2 separate regions of the Homo sapiens genome follow, and region 2 is linked to region 1. The links are contacts of gene promoters, found by promoter capture Hi-C in human tissues and cell types (Jung and others, 2019). All regions are on one chromosome and are shown on one strand. Each heading gives the region's core, a stretch centred on a gene start or on the middle of the fragment in contact. The rest is flanking DNA. Distances are from core to core; before and after follow the strand shown. Region 1 holds the start of CDIPT (CDP-diacylglycerol--inositol 3-phosphatidyltransferase). Region 2 holds the start of ZNF668 (zinc finger protein 668).

Region 1 (5,069 bases), core at 1,622-4,121:
GCCCACCTCAGCCTCCCAAAAATGCTGGGATTACAGGTGTGAGCCACTGCACCTGGTGGAAAATTATTTCTTTAGGTGCTACCTCCTTCAAGAAGCTCCAAAGCCTGTAATCCCAACACTATGGGAGGCCAAGGAGGGCGGATCATGAGGTCAGGAGATCAAGACCATCCTGGCTAACACGGTGAAACCCCGTCTCTACTAAAAATACAAAAAAATTAGTCGGGTGTGGTGGCGGGTGCCTGTAGTCCCAGCTACTTGGGAGGCTGAGGCAGGAGAATGGCGTGAACCCAGGAGGTGGAGCTTGCAGTGAGCTGAGATCACACCACTGCACTCCAGCCTGGGCAACAGAGCAAGACTCCGTCTCAAAAAAAAAAAGAAGAAGCTCCATGGCTCCTGTCCTTCCTGTCCAATTGAAGCTGGGATAAGAGTACTATCCCACTGTGTCCATTTCTATTATGGAAACTTATCCAGACTGTATTATAATTGGCCATTTCCTTGTCTGTCCCCACACTGAACTGTGAACTCTTCAAGGGCTGAGACTGTACCATTCATTTCAGTGTCCCAAGCTCCTAAGACAGGGACCAACATATAGTGCAAACTCAAAAGGTTTGGTTAATATCGAATAGCCTTGGCAGCCATGGACCCTGCATGTACCTTTTCACCAGGAGTTGGCAGGAGGTATGCCTTGCTGCAGGTACGGTTTCTGTCCGAGCAGGAGATGGTGGAAGAGAGGGGAGAGGGCTGAGAATTCAGAATTTGAGGATCAGGGCAGAATAGAATGGAAGTGCACGGTTCAAAAATTCCCCCACCCTGCTGGGATATTGTGAAACCCTCACTCTCTCCCCTCCAGGTTCCTCACCTCTCTCCCAGGACAAAGAGCATCTCCCTTGAAGCCTCACTCACCAGGTGTCTGTGCCTCAGGTCTTGGTGAAGAATGCTGGAAGTAGAGGACCTAGTCAGAGAAAGGACTATCCCCGTGGCCAGAAGAGATGCGGCCAGGGCAGACGGGGCTAAGGGGATTCTCGGCCAGCAGTGAGGAGTGGGTACTGGGTTAGCGGGTGAGAGGGGCATTTCACAGGTCCTAGGGCTGGCTGTGAGATGGATGAGATGGGCACAGACTCCTGGAGAGTTCAGCTAGGGGTGGGAGGGGTCAGGGACTGTAACCAGGCATAGTGGGGGCAGCGGTTCTCTAGACACGGTGGTCCTGAGGCAGGGGGTTACCGCGTTTGGATATCTGAGTCGCTTGGTCTTGTGACTGCTTTTTTTTGATGGGCACAGGGTTCAAGTGGCAGCAAGCAGTGCACAAAGCCTCCTCCATGAGTTCTGCACTGATCTGGGACAGGTATTCCTCAGAACGAGATAACGAAGCCTGGGAAAGGAAAAGCCGGAGGGGTTCAGCCTGGGAGCTCCCACATGGGAGTGCTGGCTGTGGGAGTTCCCAGGCTGGGGCCTGTGGGTCCAAGGAGCTTGCTCCTGAAGGACTGGGCCTTGAGATTTAGCTAGAAAGCTCTGGACCTGGGGGAGGGGGGTTTGGTGGGGGTTTAGAGTCAGGGCCTAGTGCTGAGAGCTATGAGTCGGGGCTTCAGGACTCAGGGTTGAGGCTAGAGTCTCAGGGCCCGTGGCTCAGACCTGGCACGGGGTGCCTCTGCCTGGGAGGCTTTCACTTCATTACATTCCCACCTCTAGGGTTCCCTGCAGTGCTCACCGGACCTCCTCTCAAGGAGGGTGCAGCTTGAGATGGCCAGCTGCTCTTCTTCTCCCCCTCATTCCCCATCGGAGTGGACGCCATCCCCCTGGGAACAGTCGAAGCCTGAGTTGACCTGAGAAACCAGCCCGCTTTCCCCCAGAACCCAGTCCACCACCATTCCCCGGGCCCAGGTTTAAACAAGGCCTTTAGAGGAAACATCCCGCTGCCTCATTCCCTCTCACAAGAAAAAATAATAATAATAATAAAGGTTGCTTTATATCTTCGGGAGTGAGAGGGAACTCCCGCAACCCCCTACCCCTCACCCCTTCGCCTGGTGGGCCTCTCCTTCCTTCTTCCCTCCCAAGCACCTTCCCAAGCCGAGGCAGCCGACTTGACGCCCCAGACCTGGCAGATGGGTGGAAACCTTGGGCTACTCGGCAAAAGGAGAGACGTGGAGGCCTAAGGACCTCTGGTATAGGTCGTGGGGGATGGAGAATGGGAGATGGGGAGGAAGGCTGGAAAAGGGGGAGCCGGCTCCGTGTCGCTACCGGACGCTATAAAACCCTTGGAGTCTGCAGAGGTTCCGCAGCCTCGTTGCTAGGAGATCAGGGGTTCTAGAACTAAAGACAGAGGAATTTCCTAGCGCGCCCCGTTTGCTCCTCCAGCCTCCCCTCCGTACCCCTCCAGGTGCCTCCTTGAGGGCAGTGACCCCAAGCGCCAGACGCTTGAGAAGCTTGGGAGGATGACGTAGGGTGGAGCCTGCGACCTAATCCTCCCATCACAAGGGGCACGCGAAAAGCAACCCATCTGCAGGGCGCTCTGGAGCCTCTCTAGCCGCCTAGAGCCTGCGAGAGCAAAGGCGGCTGGAGACTTAGGGGGCGGGGAGTAAAGTGAGGACTGCACCAAATCTCCTGGCCTCTTGGGGACGCAAAGACTCAGGAGGAGGAATTTTATCGCCTTATCTTTGCCTCCAGGAAGTCATACCCTCCACAAAAGGAAAGCAGAGATTTTTATTCGGTCTTCTCTTTTACCCTTTCCTTTTCCGTTTCTAACTTTGCTTGACGTTAATGGTTCCTTCCTCCCTCTCCTCCTCTGCGCTTTGGTACGAGCCAAGGGAGAGGGGCGGAGGGAGGAAAAGGGAAAGGAAGCCGACAGGCCTTAAAGGGGCCGCAACTATTTTTTTAAGCCACTTTTTCCTCTCTCCAATTTTGCAACGACGGGCGCGGAGGAGGAGGTTCCCGGAAGCCACGCGCAGCTGGAGCAGCGGCGACCGCAGCTGGAGGCCCGGAGCGCCTGCGGGGCTGGCAGAGGCGAGGGAGGTTGCGGGTAGGAAGGGCGGACTGCGCGCGCCCCCTGCGTCCCGCGCACCTCGGGGCCGGTCCATGCTCCCGACGGCTGCGGGCTTCAGCATCTGGGGCCAGGTTGGGGCGGCGGGGTCCAGGGCGCAGGTGGTGCGGCCGATGCGCCGGGCCGGAGGCTGAGGCCGCGCTGCGGGGCTGGGACAGCACTGGCATCTCCAGAGCAGGCCCGGGGCAGCAAGGGAGGCGCCGCGATGCCAGACGAAAATATCTTCCTGTTCGTGCCCAACCTCATCGGTGAGTGCTGCCCACGGCCCCGGGCCGAACGAGAGGGCGAGGGGCCTTGGCGGGCTCCCTGATCCTGCCCTGTCTCCCCGCGTCCCGTTCCAAGGTTATGCCCGGATTGTCTTCGCCATCATTTCTTTCTACTTCATGCCCTGCTGCCCCCTCACGGCCTCCTCCTTCTACCTGCTCAGCGGCCTGCTGGACGCTTTCGATGGACACGCTGCTCGCGCTCTTAATCAAGGTGACAGACACCCCTCTCAGCCAGCCTTGGGGTTCAACAATCCCCTCCTCCCTTCCCCTGCCTCCTCGGGACCTCAGAGTCAGAGGGCTGTCATTCCCATCTCTGGAAAAAGCAGAACAGGATGGCCTGGGGCTTTTTGTTTTGTGTTTTGTTTTTTTGTTTTTGAGACAGGGTCTCGCTCTGTCACTTAGGCTGGAGTGCAGTGGCGCGATCATGGCTCACTGCAGCCCCCATCTTCTGGGCTCAAGTAATCCTCCCACCTCAGCCTCCTGACTAGCTGGGACTACAGGAGCGTGCCACCACACCCGGCTAATTTTTAAATTTTTGTAGAGACTGGGTCTTGCAGTGTCGCCCAGATTGGTCCCCAGCTCCTAGCCTCAAGCGATCCTCCTGCCTTGCTCCCAAAGTGCCGCGCCCAGCAAGAATGGACTGATTTTGTAGCAAAAGGAATTTAAGCTAGCTCTTGAGAACTCACTGCTTGTGAGAGGTGTGGATTAGCAAGACATGACATGGCGGTGGCGCTGCTGGAGGTCTCTCTGAATACAAGTCCATTCAGGCCAGGGGCGGTGGCTCACGCCTGTAATCCCAGCACTTTGGGAGGCCGAGGTGGGTGGATCACGAGTTCAGGAGTTCGAGACCAGCCTGGCCAACATGGTGAAACCCTGTCTCTACTAAAAATACAAAAATTAGCGGGCTTGGTGACGCGTGCCTGTAATCCCAGCTACTCGGGAGGCTAAGGCAGGAGAATTGCTTGAACCCGGGAGGCGGAGGTTGCAGTGAGCCAAGATTGCGCCATTGCACTCCAGCCTGGGCGACAGAGCAAGACTCTGTCTCGGAAAAAAAAAAACAAAAAACAAAAAACAGTGTATTCAACAGGTGTTTACTGGAGGCCTACTGTGTGCCCTGCATAAGCAGTTGGGGTTCCAGAAGGCATGCTTAGAGGGAGGATGGAGAGGGAAGGGTGATGGCTTCTGGAGGGTTGACTAATTTTTTAATCTGTTCTCCAGACCCAACTGTAAGGCTTCCCCTGAGGCATCAAGTCTCTATCTAGCCCTGGAGTCTTGGTTCTGGGGTTGATGAGTTGCAGACATAGCTTTCCTCTCCTCCTACCCTGTTCCCTCCACTCTCATGCCTTTCTCAGTTCATGCCATGGTGACCTTTGCCCACTGACCTCACACACAGCCTGTTTTCTAGCCTGCGTTCCTCCCCAGGCAGGCGGACACTTCCAGTCTTCGTTTACACCCTGCGTCAGAGTGATAAACCAAATATGGGCACCTGTCCTGCATCCACTGTGCCATAACAGCCCTTGCCCACCTAATCTTCCAGGAACCCGGTTTGGGGCCATGCTGGACATGCTGACGGACCGCTGCTCCACCATGTGCCTGTTGGTCAACCTGGCCCTGCTGTACCCTGGAGCCACGCTGTTCTTCCAAATCAGCATGAGTTTGGATGTGGCCAGTCACTGGCTGCACCTCCACAGGTCTGCTGCGATTCTGGGGGCCTGGGCCACTTGGAGACATTACAGTGGGGTGGGCTGAGCCTAGACGGAAGGGTGTCT
Region 2 (5,069 bases), core at 751-3,250, 1.2 Mb before region 1:
AGAGGGGGCAGTGGTCAAAAGGAAGGCCTGAATTAACTTCGCCTCTTGGCTCTACGAGCAACAAGTTCACCTGAGGTCACTGAGAGGTTCCCCAAGCATCCATGCCCAAGGACCTAATTTCTACTAGATCCAATCTGCAGGCACCATCATTTAAGGCTTCCCTGTGCACAAGCTTCCCAAATATAGGAGCTCCCCTAGGCTTAAGTCATCCCTACAGGTATAGCTAAGGAAATTAAAGTTGAGAGAGATGCAACCTACTTCTGATCACAGACCTGTTATGTTCTTCAGACCAGACTCAAAAGGCATTACTGTCCTTTAAGAACAGTAGGAATCTGCTCCCTACAATCCTGAAACAAAAATTTTCTGTGACATCTTAAAAGGACACCAAAACCTTCTCTAGGCCTTTCAATAAGAGAAGTCCAAATCTTCCTACTTCATCTCTCAGCTAAACAGAGTAGCTGAGAAGCACTGAAAAAGCAGCTGTTTCCTCCAGTTAATAGCTGAGGACCTGAGAGGAGAGGTTAGAGGCCTCCTTCAGGGAAAGGGCTGGCTTGTTCCCCCACCACCCCGAGTCATTTCAGTGTCACAAGGTCTCTTTTCCTTGTGACAAGAGAGTTAAGAGAGTTAAGACTCTCTTAACTGGGCCAGGTGTGGTGGCTCACGCCTGTAATCCCAGCACTTTGGGAGGCCGAGGCTGGTGGATCACCTGAGTTCAGGAGTTCAAGACCAGCCTGGACAACATGGTGAAACCCTGTCTCTACTAAAAATACAAAAATTAGCCGGGCGTGGTGGTGGGCACCTGTAATTCTAGCTACTCAGGAGGCTGAGGCTGAAGAACTGCTTGAACCTGGGAGGTGGAGGTTGCAGTGAGCTGAGATCCCACCACAGCACTCCAGCCTGGGTGACAGAGCGAGACTCCATCTCAAAAAAACAAAAAACCCCAAAAGACTCTCTTAGCGACTTCTTTTATCTACTTCCCTTGAACTCAAACTATCTTCCATCTTGGGAATAACATCAATACCAGGTTGTAATGTCACTTCATTGCCTACCTTTTCTCTCCCATGCCTCCTGATCTTACCCTCACCAGTCTTTCTCATTTTTTTCTTCTGCCTCCTCTCTTAATACTGATGATGACAGCAACTCATGAAGAGTATTATATTACCATGTGCCAGGCACTGTGCTAACTATATTCATTGTGTTACTCAATCCTCAGAACACACGGCAATGCCTGTTATTCTAGTTCACGTAACAGCAAACCCCCTGACTGAGGCGGTCTTCATCCCAAAGCCCTTGCTCTCTCATGCCCCCTACATCGTCTTGTCCTTCTCCAACTCTGACTCTTCTTCCCATGGGACCCCAGTACAACTGTCTCCGACCGTAAACCCCTTCACTGAACCTGCCCCCGGAATTCTCACCTCACAAAGCCCCTTTGATCAAAAGTCCCCTCCCCTAGTCAACCACCAATGAAGTCCTCTGACCTCACTCATCTCGTCTGCCAATTTCCTCTCAGGACGCCTACCTCGCACCGGCGGCCCCCTCTCCTTCCCGCCGCGGGCGCGTCAGTTGGGGACCGCGAACAAGAGCGCGCCTGCGCACTGGGACCCTTACCCTAACTGCAGCCGCGCGCCCCAAGGGGTGGCTGTCGGGGGGCTCTCGCGCTCCCACACACGCACACTCAGCCAGGGTTCCCGGGAGGTGGGAGGGAAGGGAAAGAGGGAAAGGAGAAGGGGGGAAGAGGAAGGAGGTAGAGAAAAGAGGGCGCAGCTGGCATGAGCCAGGAGTCTACTCCCAGCTCTACGGACACTTCCTATTGTTACTAGGAAACAGGAAGTGTCCTTAGGTGCAAAAGCTTCCCCGCGAAACTTCCGCTTCGGGAGCACTGCCTGTCCCGCCTCCGAGCCGCAGTTTTACGCAGACACACTTCCGGCGCTAAGTTCTAGGTCTGCACGGCTGACTCCGCCCACGTAGGTCACAACGCGGCGTCTTTGCACGCTAAGCTAGCCACACTTCCGGCAAGAGCAGCTAGAATCGTTCCGGTGCATATTGAATAGGCGCAGAAAGGGAGAAAAAGATTCTACAGCCCTGGCCACAGTACTTTGGTGACACTTTTCGTGGGGCTCTCTGGAGGACTTTTCCCAAGGCAGATGGAGAAAACTTCGTGAAACCCACTCCTTGCTATTAAAGGAAATGTTGTGGAATATAATTGGACTTAGGTTTTGCAGAGCTTGAGCATGGCCTTTTTGTCCTCCCACCTTCTGGTTCTTGAAGACATTGCCGGTGACCTGGCCCCAGACTAACACAAGGCGGGCGTATACCGTCAGCCTGCCTGGCGTCCCCTTGCCTCAGCACACACAGAGACCTCTTGCAAGATGCTTCTCTGCCGCCATAGGCTGGAGGTTCCCCGGGAACTTTCCCTTCCTTCCTAGCTGAGGAAGATCCCTCACTTCCGCTCGCCGCGCCACCGGTCCCACCTCCCCGCCCCCCGCTGGGTCCTAGCGCCGGCCCCTGTTTGGCAGGGTCCGGGCTCCGTCGGTGCGAGGAGCCGACGCCGACGCCACGGAGTCAGCACAAGTCTCATCAGGTAGGAAACGTCGGCGGGAAGCCGCGAGGGCCCCGGGCAGCTCCCACGCGGCCACGATCCGAGCTGGCCTCAGTTTCCCTGCGGGCGCCGAGGGCGGGCCGGGTTGGCCCAGCGCGAGCAGCGCGGGCGGGGCGGGCTGTGAGCGGCCCCGGGCGCATTGCGGGCCCAGCAGGTCCTAGAACCCGCCGGCTGTCTCCGCGGTTCTGGGCTGCGGACACCCAGGCTCGGCCCGCGCGGCTGCTGGCCCGGCGCGGTGTGGTCCCGGGGGTCCTAGAGCCCGCCATGTTTTGGGTTTTTGTCCCGGTCGCGTGGCCCGCGCTGCAAGATCCCAGGCGCCGGCGGCCCCCTCCCCTGCTGAGGCCCGGCCACCACTCCCGCGGTCCTAGAGAACGCCATCTTGCAAGCCTTTGTCCCTCATTCGGCCTTCCGTCCATTCATTTGTTCATCTCCTCATCCTTCGTTCAGTCCTCCTTGCCACGTCCTCCGAAGCCACGTTTTCTGAGGCTTATAACCGGGGTCCTGCCCTCCAGGGGCTGCCTGGCTGGCGGGGGCGCCGCGTACAGACGGTTGCGAGGAGCGAGGAGCTCCGGGTTTCTGCAACTCTCGGCTCCTCGGCGCGCTTCGTAGGCCCCACCGCCCTTCAAACTCCCACAAACTTAAGGGACCCCATTTTACTGATGAGGAAACTGAGGTCCAGAGCGGCGTGGGGCCCTTACCTCTCTACTGCCATAAAGTATTCCTGAGGGCACTAGGGAAGGGGGTTCTTGAAGGATGTAAAGGGGCTTTCCCGTTGGAGAAGGCAGGCAAGGGCTCCCCGAGCCCAGGAAACTGCATCTAGAGGTGGAGGATTGAGAATTGTGGCTGGAGGTTCGGTCGCTGCCGGGAGGAGGACTCTGTCGCTGGAGCTGAGGCTGGAAAAGTAGGTTGGGATCAGGTTGTGAACTGGCCCGGTAGGAGGCCTAGGATATGATTAGCGCTCACTTCTGCAGGGTTCATCCGCTCACTACGTCACTCCTGGCCGTGAGGCCTGTGTGGTGACTGCTTGTTTAGAGATGGGAAGATTGAGGTGCCTCCTTTTTCTCCTCATCCCTGCCCCAGGGTCCTAGCCTAGGATTTTTGGAAATTGAATCTTTGCTTGCCTAGTGAGACAGCAGAACTTCATCCCCTTCCTAAGCCAGTAGTGAGGCAAAGCAAGGCTTCATCGCCACGACAGGGAGCCCACTGTGGGATATTGGGGCAATAGTTGAGCCTTGTGGAGTTGGAAAGGTGGAGGAATTTAGTTAATAAACAGTTATTGGTGGACATTCTCACAAACTCCTACTGTGGAGGAGGCAGAGGCTACAGACCTGGGTTCAAATTTCATCTGAGGTTGGTTCTTTCCATTTGTTTTGGGTCACCACACAGGGTTCTGGGTGTAGAGGAGGCAGATGATCGGTTTCCTAGCCCTTTGCCAGCCTGGACTCTGGTGCTGGTGATGAAGAATTAACAGCCAAACCATAAGATGTGTAATGCTAGCAAAGCAATAGTCAGGGCTCAGAGAGCAGGTGTTTGGGATTTGAACACTGGCTGGGACCGTGACTAGTAAGCTTGTTTCTTTGTGGTGTCACTTCTCATAAGAACGCTAATCCTACTGGACCAGGGCCATACCCTTATGACGTCATTCAGCCTTAATTACTTCCATAAAGGCCTTGTCTCCAAATACAGTCACAATGAGAGTTAGAATTTCAATATATGAATGGACAGGGAACACAAACATTCACTCATAATGAACTGCTAGGCAGCTGTGCAGTTGGCTTGAGTAGTTGAGTATTATGCACAAAATGCTTAGAATGATACCTTGCCCATGGTAAGCTTGCAAGGAGTATTGTCCAGATGACACCATAAAGGAAATTAGAGAGGAGGGGTGCTGGTCACTGTGGCTCATGCCTGTAATCACAGCACTTTAGGAAGCCATAGTGGAGGAGCATCTGAAGCCAGGAGTTCTTGAGACCACTGTCGGCAGCGTAGTGAGACCTCCATCTCTATATACAAAGAATTTTTAATAAATTAGCGAGGTGTGGTGGTGGGTGCCTATAGTCCTAGCTACTCAGGAGGATTGCTTGAGTGCAGGAGTTTGAGGCTGAAGTGAGCTATGATTGAGCCACTGCACTCCAGGGTGACAGAGTGAGACCCAATCTCTAAATAAAAATAAAGGCCAGGCACGGTGGCTCACGCCTGTAATCCCAGCACTTTGGGAGGCTGAGGCGGTCGGATCACTTGAGGTCAGGAGTTCGAGACCAGCGTGGCCAATGTGGTGAAACCCTGTCTCTACTAAAAATACAAAAGTTTGCCAGGTGTGATGGCTTTCGCCTGTAGTCCCAGCTACTCGGGAGGCTGAGGCTGGAGAATCACTTGAATCCGGGAGGTGGAGGCTGCAGTGAGCTGAGATGCAGCCACTGCACTCCAGCCTGGGCAACAAAGACTTTCTCTCAAAGAAAATAAATAAATA

What was found. The method cuts DNA at HindIII sites, captures the fragments that hold promoters and counts their contacts. A contact is called where the count stands out against the background at its distance.
Region 2: the fragment with the promoter of ZNF668 here is called in contact with the fragment with the promoter of CDIPT in region 1 in 1 of the 25 tissues and cell types used here (hippocampus).

The regions. Positions count from the first base shown.
Region 1 is chr16:29,861,028-29,866,096 of GRCh38, reverse strand. It overlaps CDIPT (CDP-diacylglycerol--inositol 3-phosphatidyltransferase), which reads left to right and starts at 2,871. Exons shown (of 6, transcript NM_006319.5): 1 at 2,871-3,282; 2 at 3,377-3,511; 3 at 4,838-4,991. The coding sequence starts at 3,240. It also overlaps the pseudogene CDIPTOSP. RefSeq lists enhancers at 2,213-2,750, 4,906-5,069 and silencers at 2,799-2,858, 2,869-3,178. The HindIII fragment of the contact is 6,529 bases long and covers 1-3,787 here.
Region 2 is chr16:31,071,171-31,076,239 of GRCh38, reverse strand. It overlaps ZNF668 (zinc finger protein 668), which reads left to right and starts at 2,000. Exons shown (of 3, transcript NM_024706.5): 1 at 2,000-2,581. ZNF646 (zinc finger protein 646) reads right to left here and starts at 1,818. Exons shown (of 3, transcript NM_014699.4): 1 at 1,609-1,818. RefSeq lists enhancers at 1,052-1,584, 1,940-2,079, 1,585-2,118, 2,738-3,032, 2,324-3,124 and a silencer at 2,390-2,849. The HindIII fragment of the contact is 1,997 bases long and covers 1,012-3,008 here.